Regions from separate parts of the Homo sapiens genome. Here all the other regions are linked to region 2. The links are contacts of gene promoters, found by promoter capture Hi-C in blood cells and fetal thymus (Javierre and others, 2016). All regions are on one chromosome and are shown on one strand. The core of a region is centred on a gene start or on the middle of the fragment in contact, and the rest is flanking DNA. Distances in the headings are between cores, read along the strand shown.

Region 1 (3,638 bases), core at 856-3,355, 390 kb before region 2:
GAAATTATGCTAAGTGAAATAAGACAACCAGAGAAATACTACTCAATACTCCACTTACAAGATGTCTCTAAACAGTTAAACTCAGAAACAGAAAGTAAAATGGTAGTTGCCAAGGATTGACTGGAGGGGGAAATAGGGAGTGCTGTTCAAAGGATACAGAGGTTCAGTTGTGCAACACGAAAAACTCTAGAGATCTGCTTTACCACACTGTTCTTACATTTAACAATACCGGATTATACACTTAAAATTTTGTTAACAGAATTAAAGAAGTACAGCCATGTTAACAAAAAGGCTTTGGATCAGTTTGTAAATTTCTCTGAGCAGAAAGAAAAGTTAATAAAGCGACAAGAAGAGTTAGATAGGGGTTACAAATCGATCATGGAGCTGATGAATATACTTGAACTTCGGAAATATGAAGCTATTCAGTTAACTTTCAAACAGGTATCCAAGAACTTCAGTGAAGTATTCCAGAAGTTAGTACCTGGTGGCAAAGCTACTTTGGTGATGAAGAAAGGAGATGTGGAGGGCAGTCAGTCTCAAGATGAAGGAGAAGGGAGTGGTGAGAGTGAGAGGGGTTCTAGCTCACAAAGCAGTGTCCCATCAGTTGAGCAGTTTACTGGAGTTGGAATTAGGGTGTCATTTACAGGAAAACAAGGTGAAATGAGAGAAATGCAACAGCTTTCAGGTGGACAGAAATCCTTGGTAGCCCTTGCTCTGATTTTTGCCATTCAGAAATGTGACCCGGCTCCATTTTACTTGTTTGATGAGATTGACCAGGCTCTGGATGCTCAGCACAGAAAGGCTGTGTCAGATATGATTATGGAACTTGCTGTACATGCTCAGTTTATTACAACTACTTTTAGGCCTGAACTGCTTGAGTCAGCTGACAAATTCTATGGTGTAAAGTTCAGAAATAAGGTTAGTCATATTGATGTGATCACAGCGGAGATGGCCAAAGACTTTGTAGAAGATGATACCACACATGGTTAATTGGAAAATACTACTTACTGGTTTGGGAGTTGTGTATAGTAATATGATTCTCATACCCAGAACTGTAAATATAAACCTAAATATTTGGCCAATAGTTTTCAGACTTAAAGCATCATAGTCCTTTTATATTTGTCTTTGTATTTTATAAGATACTCTGTAATGTCATGTTTGTACTTACAGTTTTAGAATTTAATTTCCTGTACAACTTTTTGTAAAATGTTCTGCTCCTATTTTAAATGTTTTGAAACATGCTAAATATTCTTTCCTAATTATTTTATCGCTTATACTGCCTTTTTTATAGCTTCAATTAAATAATTGGTTTTATGACTAAAAAAAAAAAAAAAAAAAATTGTTAAGAAAGACCAGGCCCGGTGGCTCATGCCTGTAATCTCAGCATTAATAGGAGTGTGAACTACTATTTTTCTTTCTTAAGTTCCGGGGTACATGTGCAGAACATGCAGGTGTGTTACACAGGTAAACATGTGCCACGGTGGTTTGCCGCACAGATCAACCCGTCACCTAGATATTAAGCTATTACTATTTTTCAATGTTCATAGATGCAATGAAATTCAACCTTACTGAATCTGTAGAACCTCTGTTTCTCACAGCAACAGATACTAAAAGTAAAACCACTCATGTAGAGGTCTTCAAAAACTCATTCTCCCAAGCTTATTGCTGTAGGCTGCTTCAATTGATACATCTTCGGCAACCATGCCAGTACACAGGAAAGGCTAAGTATAGTACTTGCATTCAATTAATAGATGCTCCATCACGTGCTCCTATTTCTCTGTTACGGCTTTTCATTATATTCTAAATCACCCTTTTTCTAAGCAACTGCCAAACCTGTGCTTTGTGTTTTCTTATACTGTTCATATCCCCAAACAGAATTTAAAGTTATAAAGGTAAACAATCAAAGTCAAATATATTCTGTACCCAGAAGAGCTTTGTAAAAGCTATTTCAGTTAAAAGTTGAAGTTTTTTACAAATGTAAAGTAAGATTACTAGAAGTGTGATTCCTAGTTAAGTGTGGCATTACCAGCCTGTGATTGAGCTCAGGAAAATTGTTCACTGTGTGCCAAGGGTTCCTACAACTGCTTTTCAATAATCCTCTCAGAAACTGAACTCAACAAATAATTTTCATTATAAAATACACTATAAAAAGCAGAGCTATAGTTATAGTAAACTGTTGGTTGTTTAAAGGTGATTTAGTTTACCTCAAAGAATTATTCTCTGCTTTTTGTCTGCCAAGTTCACTTTCGGTATCCATTGCCTTTCTTGCTAGTGATTTCATTTCTTTTTCCACAGTGCTTATGGTTTCCTTCATCAAAGTCATATTTGACATTTGCTCCATACGTTCATCATCAAGCTATACAAGTAGAATGACAAGGTTACTGCCATCACTAAAAACACCTTAGTAATCTTCCTGAAGGGCATACTCCCTCTGTACAAACTGGTTTATGGCAAGACTGACAGGATGAGATTATCAGGTTAGACCTGACTGCTGTAGAAGGTTTTACAGATAAGGTGTTGTGAAGTAGGACCAAGGAAAAGCCACTGCAAAGTAAAGCTTATCACAGTATATCAGTCTATATTTTTCAATCTGGTTCAATTTGACTATAGTATAAATATGCTGTTTGCAAAAGAATTTATTTGTTGCCCAACATTAATAAATTACACATATAATGTAGAATTATGAAAACAAAAATTATTTTCTCCTGTCTAGTAATTTTTTTTTTTTTTGAGACAGAGTATCGCTCCATCGCCCAGGTTGAAGTGCAGTGGCGCGATCTCGGCTCACTGCAATCTCCACCTCCCGGGTGCAAGCAATTCTCCTGTCTCAGCCTCCCAAGTAGCTGGGACTACAGGCGCATGCCACCACACCTGGCAAATTTTCATATTTTTAGTAGAGACAGGGTTTCACCATATTGGTCAGGCTGGTCTCAAACTCCTGACCTTAGGTGATCCACCCGCCTTGGCCTCCCAAAGTGCTGGGATTACAGGCATGAGCCACCGTGCCCAGCCCCTATCTCATATTTTTAACTCATTACAATAAAACAGTACAGATGAACTTATAAATATATTCAATTATATTTGGTAATAGAAAGTTAAATTCTCTTATGTTTATATAGTGACAATATCATCAATATATATTCGTAGCAATATCAAATCTGATTAGGAAAAAGGTGATGTTTCACATTTAAATTTAGTTTAAATAAACTTTGCTTATAATTTTTATTTCATCATAATTTTCTCTCCTTATCCACTCTTTAGGTAGAATAAACCATTTTCTTTACATCTGGCAATATTATCTTTAACAAAATATGGAGATGAGAAAGTAGATAAGATCCCTGAAAATGAATGCCTAATGATTTTTTTAAAGTACATACTTTGCAACCTAACACCAAAAAACATTTACTCACATTTTTAGAAGGAAATAAACAAATGAAAAAGTGACAATTTACACTATAAAATACCTTAAGTATTTTAGGACTATAAACACTATCTTAGAAAAATAAAATAACTTCTCTGAATACAGAAAAAGGAGAAAGGGGAAAGCCATTGAGTGTTTATAGCCAAAAGAGACTTTTCTTTTTTTTTTTTTTTACATTATGAACTGTACACTCCAGCTCCTCTATCCTTTGTTCCAG
Region 2 (3,193 bases), core at 57-2,556:
CAGGCTGATTTGCTACATACAGAACTCCATAGAAAGAACCAAGGTTATGGTTGGTCCTACCCTACCTAAACAGGAAATGGCTTATTCTCGGAGACTAAAGTGCCAAGTCCGGAAAGACCAGACAGATACACAGAATTACAGACTGTTACATAAAGTCCTTAATAGTTACAAGCCCTTGTTGTGCTATGTGCTAGTCTGCATTATTTTCACCTAAATGAAACCATTTCTACTTAGTACATGGCGTGAGAAGACGTGGAGATAAAGAGAATTAGCAGACGTATATTATCTGCAATTTATCTTACGGAGGAGTACATTAAGGAGTGTTATGTGAGATTATTTCTTTACAAACTGAGAATAGGTAGGAAGAGCAGCGAAACACAGCGCGGCTCGGTGCGCCCAGAGCGGCGTCACTGTAACAGTACAGAAGTGGGCAAGGGGCTCTCGGAAGGACAGTTGGGGAACGGCGCCCAGCGTATTTAGCGAACGGACAAGCAGCAAGGAAAAACAAGGGAGCAACAACCGCCTTCGGACATTCCGACCGGTTCTGGGATGCACCGGGGACGTCGAAGGCGGGGTGCGGAAAAACGCTGTGGCTGGAGTGCGGGTGGGAGCGGCGGCTCGACCGGGTCGACATTCTACAAACGCTTGTGGAACGAACGCCCGAACGCGCGCGTGAATGAATGGCGCGGAACTGAATGGCCGGCCGAGGCGCCGGCGCAGGAGGAAGGAGTTTGCGGCGCGGTCTGACCGGGCCGGCGGGATGCGGCCGGGCGCGGAGGGAAGGGCCGCTGCGCCAGGGGTCGGCGCGGGGCGGCCCATGGGGCTGGCGGCGGCGCGGGGCCGGCCGCGCCATGACGGAAGGGAAGGGGAGGGGAGGTCACACATTACATAACCCGGCGGCTGCGAGCGTCAGGGGAAGGCGCCGTGGACAGCCCAGGCCGCGACAGGACGGCCGCGGGCCGGGGCCGGGGCGACGCACCCCTCCCCCGCGCCACCTCAGGCCGACCGCGCTCTGGCCGCTGCCGGGCGGGTCTGCGGCGCCTCCGGGCGACGCGTGTCCGATCCCGCCCCTCCCCCACCCCGCCGCCGGCCCGGGGGTCGCTCACCTTCCGCGTTGCCCCAGACCACCATGCCCGGGCCCGGCGGCCTTCTCCGGCCTTGCGGACCCCGGCCCCGCCGCCGCCAGTGCCCTCGCCAGGGACCAGGGAGGAGGGCCGGGGGAAGGCAGCCCCACCGCTGAGCAGCGCCGCGGTCCACGCTCCCCCACGCTCGCGGCAACCAACCCCGCGCGCGCTCCGCGGTGGCTCTCCGCCCCTCCCCCTCCGGTTAGCGCGCGCGCCGCAGCCACGCCCCCTAGCGTTCCGCGCGCGCTCCCCGGCCCCGCTCGCGCTCACAGCCGCGCGGCGCACGCGCTCTGCTCCCCCCGGCCCGGGGCGACCCCAGCCTCGGGCGTAGCACCGCGGCGCCCGGCGTCGGCCTCCGTGTTCCTCCCCTCCCCGGCCCCGCCCTGTTGTTCTGCAGCCGCCCGCAAGGGGCAGCGCCTGGGCGGCACGTGACCGTCTCGCTAGCTGGGCGGAGGGGAGCGCAGCGCGGGCCCGCCCACGCACTGCGCCGCCTGCCCGCCCGTCCTGCTCCGGTCACCCCCGCGCTTCGTTGACCGGGTCGCGGCTCTTCGGTTGCCATTCGGACAGCGCGCCGCTCCGTGCACAGCGAGTCCCCGCGCCTGCCCCGCCTTGGGGCTCCCCAGTGGGGAAGGACACAAGTGCAGACACTGACCGGGCTTCAAACCCCGGTACTGTGTGAAGATGCGCCAGACGCCCGGGTTCCCTCCTTAAGCAATTGATTTACAGTGACATCTAGTGGAGAAAGGGACACACATGAACTGACATTTTCCTATGTCCAGAGCAACCGAGAACCACGGCCCACTCAGGTTCGCGGGAAGGAGCACTGCGCCACGGCGTTTTCGGGATTCGTGGCCTGCTCCCGCAGGGCACAGACACTATCTTCTGTCCTTTGAGTGCCCGGGCAGCATTGCGCCTGAGTATTTGTAAACGGAGGGCCGGTATCCCATCCCATGTACAGCGCTGGAGTTACCCGAGAAAGCAGTTTTCTATGAATATAAAAATAATATCCTATATTATGTATGCGTAAGTACAATTCTAATTGAGGGCCTTCTAGCAGAAAACAATCCGTCCATAAGGACCACTTTCTCCCTCTTGGCAGGGTCGCTTTGAAGACTCCACATTGTTACATAATAGTCTTTATTGTTGTAATGCACAAACATGAAGATACTTTTTTCCCACTCATTCCCTTGCCTAAAATGCTTCAGAGTTTGCAGGTACTTAGGAAACAATCAGTATTCTTTTGAAAACTGATTTGCAGAGTTGGAACTTGTTTACTAGCAACACAGAGAATACTCAAATAGCTCATTTCTTTCCCTTTCAGTTTTTTGCCATTTTATAGACTTCTATAAATGCACTTCAACTTCAGTATTCTCGTCGCTAATCCAACGAATTTAGATTGCATACTTTTCAAAGACGTCATAATTTAAAACAAATTGCGTAATTGCTTTCTTTTCTTTTCTTTTCTTTTGAGACGAAGTTTTGCTCTTTTGCCCAGGCTGGAGTGCAATGGCGCGATCTCGGCTCACTGCAACCTCCGCCTCCCAGGTTCAAGTGATTCTCCCACCTCAGCCTCCCGAGTAGCTGGGATTACAGGCATGCGCCACCATGCCCGGCTAATTTTTGTATTTTTAGTAGAGAGGGGGTTTCACCATGTTGGCCAGGCTGGTCTGGAAGTCCTGACCTCAGGTAATCCACCAGCCTTGGCATCCTAAAGTGCTAGGATTATAGGCGTGAGCCACCGTGCCTGCCCATAATTTTAACAGACTCACGACCAGTTGCCGACTGCAACACCAGGAGGTCATCTGCTGAGATGCTACAGAAAAACAGTGGTAACCCCTTGTTATGGGTGAGTTTTGTTTTGGTTGTTGTTCTTTTGCTTGTTTTAAATGTCTAAATGGCAGCATTCCTGCACGATTGTATTTCAATTTTCTTTTCCACTCTCGTATTCAAACCGAAGATCTTTTTTTTTCTTCTTTTTGTATTTTTCTCAAGGAAGAAACACAAACCTTGAGCCAACTGACCTTGGCAATACCTTTATAGAATACAGTAAAATGGTATTAACTGCAAAC
Region 3 (3,665 bases), core at 721-3,220, 320 kb before region 2:
TTCTGTCTCCAACCACACAACTGGCATCTGGATGAAAAGCTTACCCAGAACAGTTGATTCTAAGCTGCAAGGCTTTACAAATGTGCCAGCCAAAGTGAATGAGCTGCAAAATGCATTTGGATAACTGAATGGGTTGATTTGCCTTCATGGAGTTAGGTAATACTGCACAACTGCATGATGGTAAATGTTTACCAAAGACAATTCTCTTAATTGTAACAAAATTAACATTTTACTTTCCTGTTTATTAGACCCCAAGCCCATCTGTCTCTTTTTTTTCTTTTGAGACAGGGTCTGGCTCTGTCACCCAGGCTAGAGTGCAGTGGTGCAGTCTCAGCTCACTGCAGCCTCAACCTCCTAGGCTCAAGTGATCCTTCCACCTCAGCCTCCCAAGTAGCTAGGACTATAGGCACATGCCACCATGCCCGGCTAATTTTTTTTTTTTTTTTTTTTTTTTTTTTTTTTCTGATACAGGTTGCCCAAGCTCCATCTGTCTCTTTAAAAGCACTCTAATCCATGGTGTCTTTCCCTCCTGGACTTAAAACTCCCACAGGCAAAATTAAGATCTAATTCATCTTCCTAATAGATGCTTATTATTTGTTGACATGCTCCCGCAGCCAAGTAACAGAGAAGCTGGTAAAATGTTTAAATTAGCTGTATTACTTGAAAGAAACATTGTAAATCTGCTGAGTAATATATTTACAAAAATATTTAGGATTGTTCCCACAACTGAATGATGGATCCATAAATTAGTAGAAATATAAAAGTTTATTGTTAAATTCATACATTATAAAAGTGATCTTTTAAAAAAAATCCAATATTCACTTAAAGTAGACATAATACAAATTAGGCTACCACCCATCATATATTTTTTGTATGCTTCTTATGAAAAATGTCTACTGTTGTTTCATGACATGGTCTTAAATCAAAATCACAATATCCAAGGGAAAAACGACTCTAAGAAGAGAAGAAAAGAGTATCATTAAAAATGATACAAAAACAGTGCTACACATTTACTCATAAGATTATATCCTACCTGTGGTTTCTTAAAATAATCAAGTCCCCTTCCAATCTTAATCATCCATCCATTGTTGAACCTGTTGAAATTAGTATATAGTATTATATTCAAGACATTTAAGTCAGACTATTAATAAAGCTGTAGTGTATTAAGTGTCAGCAAAATTTCCCCCTAACAAAGCAAACCACTTCCTCCAGTGGCATGAGTTGAATCAAACCTGGGGTTCATTATGAGCTGTGTCCACAATGAAAACAGTCATAGAAACAATCAGTTGATTTAATTATCTGATAGTTTAATCTTGAATTTCAGCTTGTTGATAAAACTTTTTCGTGTTCTGCTAACAAGTGGTGGCAAAGTGTATTCAGGGAAACTGGTGGTGTTTCAAGAGTTCCCCTACCTAGAGATGGGGAATGTGCAGGAGGAGCCCTGGACCCTGACCTCTGCTTTAACTACAGCAGCTGCATTTTCATCTGTTTTGCATATTTAGTTTGTGATTAAGTTTTTATTAAAACTGAGTGCCCTTGCTATAAACATAACCACTGTGCTAAACAAAAGGAAGATATCACTAAAATAACTGCATATTCTGTTTTCTTATAGACTCAGCAAATTGTCATGCCTACTAGAATATTTAATAACCCCTAAGAAGTAAAGCCACATTAAGTAAATATTAAGTTCACTAGAAAATAAATTATCCTAATATCATAACACTATATATACAGTTGAGTAGACAGAAAAGTGTTCTCTTTTTCTATATGACACAGAACATGTAAATACTATTCCATTAGGAAATATTAAACTCACACACAAAACACTTGGCTTACTTTGTCAAAAAGAAAGCCAAGTGTTTTTTTTCTTCTCAAAAGTGAAAAAGTACTAAATGGAGTTTTATTTGAATTTTAAATATTTATAAATTATTAAATATTTATAGGCAATTATATAAAACATTTACAAAAATTTTAAGTATATATCAACTGCATAAAAATTAAAACATTATTGTAGACTAACCTAATTTCTCGGTCATGTATTGAAGAAGAGTATTGAACTTCCAACAGCACTCCGTGACTCCTGAGTGACTCTTCTATTTCTTGCAGGCCTCTACTTTGCTGCACTTGCTCAATGCCCTGTTAATAGCAAAAATACGATTATCTGCCGCAGTTATTATTACTATCTTAAATTATCCCTAAGCTATACAATCTATATCACAGGTGGATTAAGATGGAAATGTTCTATACTAGTTTCAATGTCTATTATCTCAAAAAAACAACCAATGTGAGGTAGTTTAAAGAGCAATTATTTTTATCAAAATCATCTTTTTTTCTAATGTGAACATAACTCCATCCTGTCTCCTTAAATGTAGTTTAGAATAGTTTTAATCATCCAGGTGGAGCTGACTGCTTTTGAAATCAATCGTAGAAATCATAATTATTTAGAAGCATTCTTATTTTAAGTCAAAACCAAGATAGAGATGCCCACTACCATATCATATCATGCTACCATCCCCCAGATATAATAATTGGTAAAGAAACAAAATTGTTCATAGTGCAGACAGTGTGATTGCCTCCTAGAATATCCAAGAGACTAAACTAACAAACTATTTGAATAAGTGCATTTAGCAAAGTGGCCAAATACAAAATCAGCATCCTAAAATCAATAACTTTTTTTATGACATGTTATGCATACTGTTAGATAATAAGTTAATTCCCAAGGAAACAAATCTAGCTGAAGCACTGCATCTGTGTTCTCCTTGACTGGACTACATCTTGTAACTGAATAAAGTTAATAAGAAAGAGTAAGTGCTTTCAGGTACCTACTTCATCCAGAGAGGTGAGAAGGTGAATAGTTTTTACTTTACATGGTCTCTTAATAAGCATCTCACAAAATCGAAGAAAGTTATACAGCTAAAAGACATTAGAATGGATTATTACTAATTTAGTACATTGAATATGATATTTCATTATATTTTAGTATGTTCACATACCTGATGAGTATGTCTAATATAAGGATCTTCTATCCAAACTTCTGTAACTGTCTCATTAAGGTATTCGCGAAAAAGTGACTCATAACTGAAACCTGTTGCATTCTCTTCTATTTTAATTTGCTTGTGATATTTTCCATCTATAAAACACAGGCTTCAACAGTAAAACCAGTGACCATTTTTTTTTTACACATTTTATATTTTATATAGAGTGATTAATCAGCATCAGATACATATTAATTTTTTTAACTTATTCAGCAAATACTTATTGAATGCCTACTAAATATCATATACATTGCAGGATGTTACACGTACAAAGGTATTTAAGGCAAACCACTCCATTAGTGATTTCTGCCTTCACAGAGGCTAGGCAAGGGGGAAAATCTAGAGGTTTCCTGGAACAGGTCCTTGAGCAAGATCCTATAGACCAGGCAGTTTGTTGAAGGGAGTAGTGTATATATAAAGGTATCCAATAACTCCCTGTCGCCATGGGTAGCACCACATACTGAAACTCAGTGGCTATCTGGTCCTCCTCTTCAGACTTGTCTTTTTATGTCTTGCAATCTAATAACTAAAGTGAGTATTAAACATGAATGCAGGGCAGAGCGCGGTAGCTCACGCCTGTAATCCCAGCATTTTGGGAGGCCAAGGTAGGTAGATCATTTGAGGTCAGGA
Region 4 (3,412 bases), core at 834-3,333, 410 kb before region 2:
AACTTAGTTAAGGGCTTGTTTCCAAGTTTTTCTATGTTATACTGAAGAGAAGAAAATACATCTTTGCTACCAAACTTAAGAAAAACTAAAAGTAATATTAAGAGAAAAAAACTCACCAATTTTTTCATCCAAGCACATAATTTTCTCCTGAGTAAGCTGTAGCTCATATTTTTTCTTAGCAAGGTGTCGCTGAGTATCAGAAAGATCTTTTTCTGTGTTTTCATACAAAAGTCTGCAAATATTTTAATAATAAAACTAATTCTGAAATTTTTGTTTTGTCATCTTGTAGTGTGTTTAAATCTAAAAACTTTTAAGGACACTAATATATTTATTTCCTCTTAATATTTTTATACAGTTTTAATATTTTCATTATAAAACCAGGAAGTTTAAAAAATAAAGGGTAAGAAGGGATCTTCAATCCACCACTCCAACATAAGCTACTATTAGCATTTTGGTCATAATACCTTCCTTAGGTCCCCTAATGCCAAATCAGAGCAATCAGATTAGGAACTACTATGTTAGCTCTGGTTGGGGTTTGTCTGTCTCAATAGCCTAGGGTTTTATGTTTTAATTCAGAAACAAGATGAGGCCATAGAGATGTCTGCAACACAGGAAATAGAACTAAGGTGTCCCATGTAAATATGGAGAGATATACCATTAGTGAGAAGGTCAGACTAGAGAAAAACACCTTGTCAATTGCTGCTAGGCTCAGGAAAATAATAACAACTGTAATGCCTAACCTTGTTTTTTACTAACTCTATTTTTAAATTTTCCCTTTTTGTCTCCTTAACTACCTAGCCTTGTTTCCCATATAAATAAGACTCTCCCTTAGCTGGGAAAGCCGGACAAACTCCATTTGGCCCCTTGATTTACAAGACATTAAGGGCTCCTTACCCGACCCCCTTCCTCAAGGAGTTAACCTGTGTAAGCAGACCCTCAGCATTTCAAAGGAGCCAAATTAACTGATAAGGTACTGGAACAAACAATGTGTGAAGTTCCCAGGATTTTGCTCAAAAAGATAACAACATAAAGCCTTGAGTCTGTGTCCAGCATAGCATCCATATCTAACAAAGGATTTAGAGCCCCGCACCTGGTTCCGTTGCTTTTTTTTGTAACCATTTGCCTTTTAAATTGTTAATCTCTCTGTAACCATTTGTTTTTTTGATTCTTGCATGTTTTTACTTCTGTAGAATTATTGCATTTGAGCTCCCCTCCCCTTCCTAAACTAAGGTATAAAGTTAATCAAGCCCCTTCCTCGAGGCTGAGAGAATTTTGAGCGTTAGCCGTCTCTTTGGCCGCCGGCTTAATAAAGGACTCTTAATTCGTCTCAAAGTGTGGCGTTTTCTCTAACTCGCTTGGGTATAACACAACAAAGAGTCTTAATCTCAATCTAAGCATCAAAATAAAATTTGGTTCCCGATTGGTCATATAATCAGGAACCCCTTGCAAAACTCTGGAGGCATGCTCTCAACCCAAGCACAGAACTAACCCCAGACAAAGGCCTATGGAAAAGGATCTCATAATTCAAAATTTAAAAATACATCAAGAAACAATCCAACCTTAGTGGGAGTCAAAAGACACACAAACTAAATTAGATCCCTAAGAACTTCAGACTACAGCACTATCAAATAGAAACTTAGAAATACATGTGTTTAAATACAAACACATAAAATAATAGGATATATAAAGAAAAAAATAATCAACAAATTTGGAAAAGAACCAAATAGAACTTCACAAAATTAAACTAACATCAAAATTTTAAAGATTACAAAACTCAGTGGACAAGTTAAAAATACAGAATAGACACTGTGAAAGAGATAACTGGTAAACTGGGGAAAAAAACAGATCAGAGGTCCTATATTAGAGCACAAATAAAACAATGAAAAAATACAAAATAGAGGTTAACAGACATAAAAGACAGAATAAGAAGGTCCAATATTTACCAAATCAAAATCCCAGTAGGGAAGAATAAAGACAATATTCAACAAAATAATACCTAATAAAAGATGAAATCCAAGACTAAAGAGGTATTAACCTGTATCTATTAAGACAATTATAAATGGGGGAGGATAAAAGGACTTAAAAGGAGACAAGATTTCTATACTTTATGCAAACTGATAAAATGTGACACCAGTGGATCGTGATAAGTAAGTACAATTCACAGAGCAACCACTGAAAAATCTATAGACACTCAAAAATACTACAGATATCAAAAATGGGATTCTAAAAAATGTCAAGTAATCCATGAAAAGGCAGGAAAACAAAAACAGAGACATGAGAAACAGAGGAAAGAAACAAACGAAAAACACCCCCAAAAAATAACATGGAGAATTGAGCCCTACCAATAATTATATTAAATGCATATGGTCTACCTTATTTTTAACAGCCAAAACCTGGAAAAAATCAAAATGTCCCTCACCAGGTGAATAGCTGAACAAATTATGGTACATTCATACTATGGAATGTTACTCAGCAATATTAAAAAGTAGCAAAATTTAATACTTGGCTGGATCTCAATGGCATTATTCTGAGTTTTCAAGCGAATCTTGAAAATCATGGCTGTATGACTCTTCCTATAACATTCTTGAAATGACAAAATTACAGAGTTGGACAACAGATTAGTGTCAGATATTAGGGATCATGGTGGGGGAAGAGGAGATGTGACTGTAAAGGAGTAGCATGAGGGATATTTTTGCGGTAATAGACTTTCCGTGTCTTGAATGTGGTAGTAGTTACATGAAACTACATATGTGATAAAATGACAGAACTATGCACACACATTGTACCAATGTCAATTTTCTGGCTTTGATATTGTACTATAGTGATATAAAATGTAATCATTGTGGGAAAGTGGGTGACGGGAATACATCGACTTATCTGTATATTTTTGTAACTTCCTACAAATTATGAAATTATTTTAAAGCAGCAAAACAAAAAAAAGTCCTAGAGTTAGGCTGCACAATTATGCCAATTAAATTAAAATCTCTGGGAATGAGAATTAACATCACTATTGTTTTTTAAAGCTCCTCATTTGATTCTAATATGCAGCCAAGGCTGTTAAGGAATGCATCTGATATGGTTTGGATGTTTGTCCGCTACAAATCTCATGTTGAAATGTGATTTCCAATGTTGGAAGTGGGGCCTGGGGAAGAGATGACTGGATCACGGGGGCAGGTCCCTCATGAATGGTTTAACACTATCCCCTTGGTGATAAGTGAGATCTCGCTAGTTAGTTCACATGAGATCTGGCTGTTCAAAGAAATCTGGGACCTCCCCTTTTCTCTTGCTCCTGCCCTTGTCATGTGATGCACTGGCTCCCCCTTTGCTTTCCACCAAGATGGCAAGCTGTCTCGTGCCCTCACCAGAAGCAAATGCCAGCACCATGCTTCCTGTACAGCCTGCAGAACCATAA

The links. The method cuts DNA at HindIII sites, captures the fragments that hold promoters and counts their contacts. A CHiCAGO score of 5 or more calls a contact.
Region 1: a fragment that was not itself captured here is called in contact with the fragment with the promoter of REV1 in region 2 in 1 of 17 cell types (erythroblasts); the score reaches 5.6 in erythroblasts.
Region 3: a fragment that was not itself captured here is called in contact with the fragment with the promoter of REV1 in region 2 in 1 of 17 cell types (neutrophils); the score reaches 5.9 in neutrophils.
Region 4: a fragment that was not itself captured here is called in contact with the fragment with the promoter of REV1 in region 2 in 1 of 17 cell types (megakaryocytes); the score reaches 5.9 in megakaryocytes.

The regions. Positions count from the first base shown.
Region 1 is chr2:99,101,763-99,105,400 of GRCh38, forward strand. TSGA10 (testis specific 10) reads right to left here. Exons shown (of 21, transcript NM_025244.4): 9 at 3,597-3,638; 10 at 2,205-2,356. It also overlaps the pseudogene SMC3P1. Among named protein-coding and RNA genes, the nearest start is that of C2orf15, 38 kb to the right of the region's middle. The HindIII fragment of the contact is 899 bases long and covers 1,657-2,555 here.
Region 2 is chr2:99,488,711-99,491,903 of GRCh38, forward strand. REV1 (REV1 DNA directed polymerase) reads right to left here and starts at 1,307. Exons shown (of 23, transcript NM_016316.4): 1 at 1,107-1,307. RefSeq lists silencers at 782-861, 932-1,031, 1,142-1,811 and an enhancer at 1,245-2,130. The HindIII fragment of the contact is 11,070 bases long and covers 1-3,193 here.
Region 3 is chr2:99,168,517-99,172,181 of GRCh38, forward strand. It overlaps MITD1 (microtubule interacting and trafficking domain containing 1), which reads right to left. Exons shown (of 7, transcript NM_138798.3): 3 at 2,994-3,130; 4 at 2,827-2,913; 5 at 2,021-2,136; 6 at 1,034-1,094; 7 at 747-954. The coding sequence ends at 859. Among named protein-coding and RNA genes, the nearest start is that of MITD1, 11 kb to the right of the region's middle. The HindIII fragment of the contact is 3,867 bases long and covers 38-3,665 here.
Region 4 is chr2:99,081,166-99,084,577 of GRCh38, forward strand. It overlaps TSGA10 (testis specific 10), which reads right to left. Exons shown (of 21, transcript NM_025244.4): 11 at 117-232. Among named protein-coding and RNA genes, the nearest start is that of C2orf15, 59 kb to the right of the region's middle. RefSeq lists an enhancer at 634-1,392. The HindIII fragment of the contact is 6,735 bases long and covers 1-3,412 here.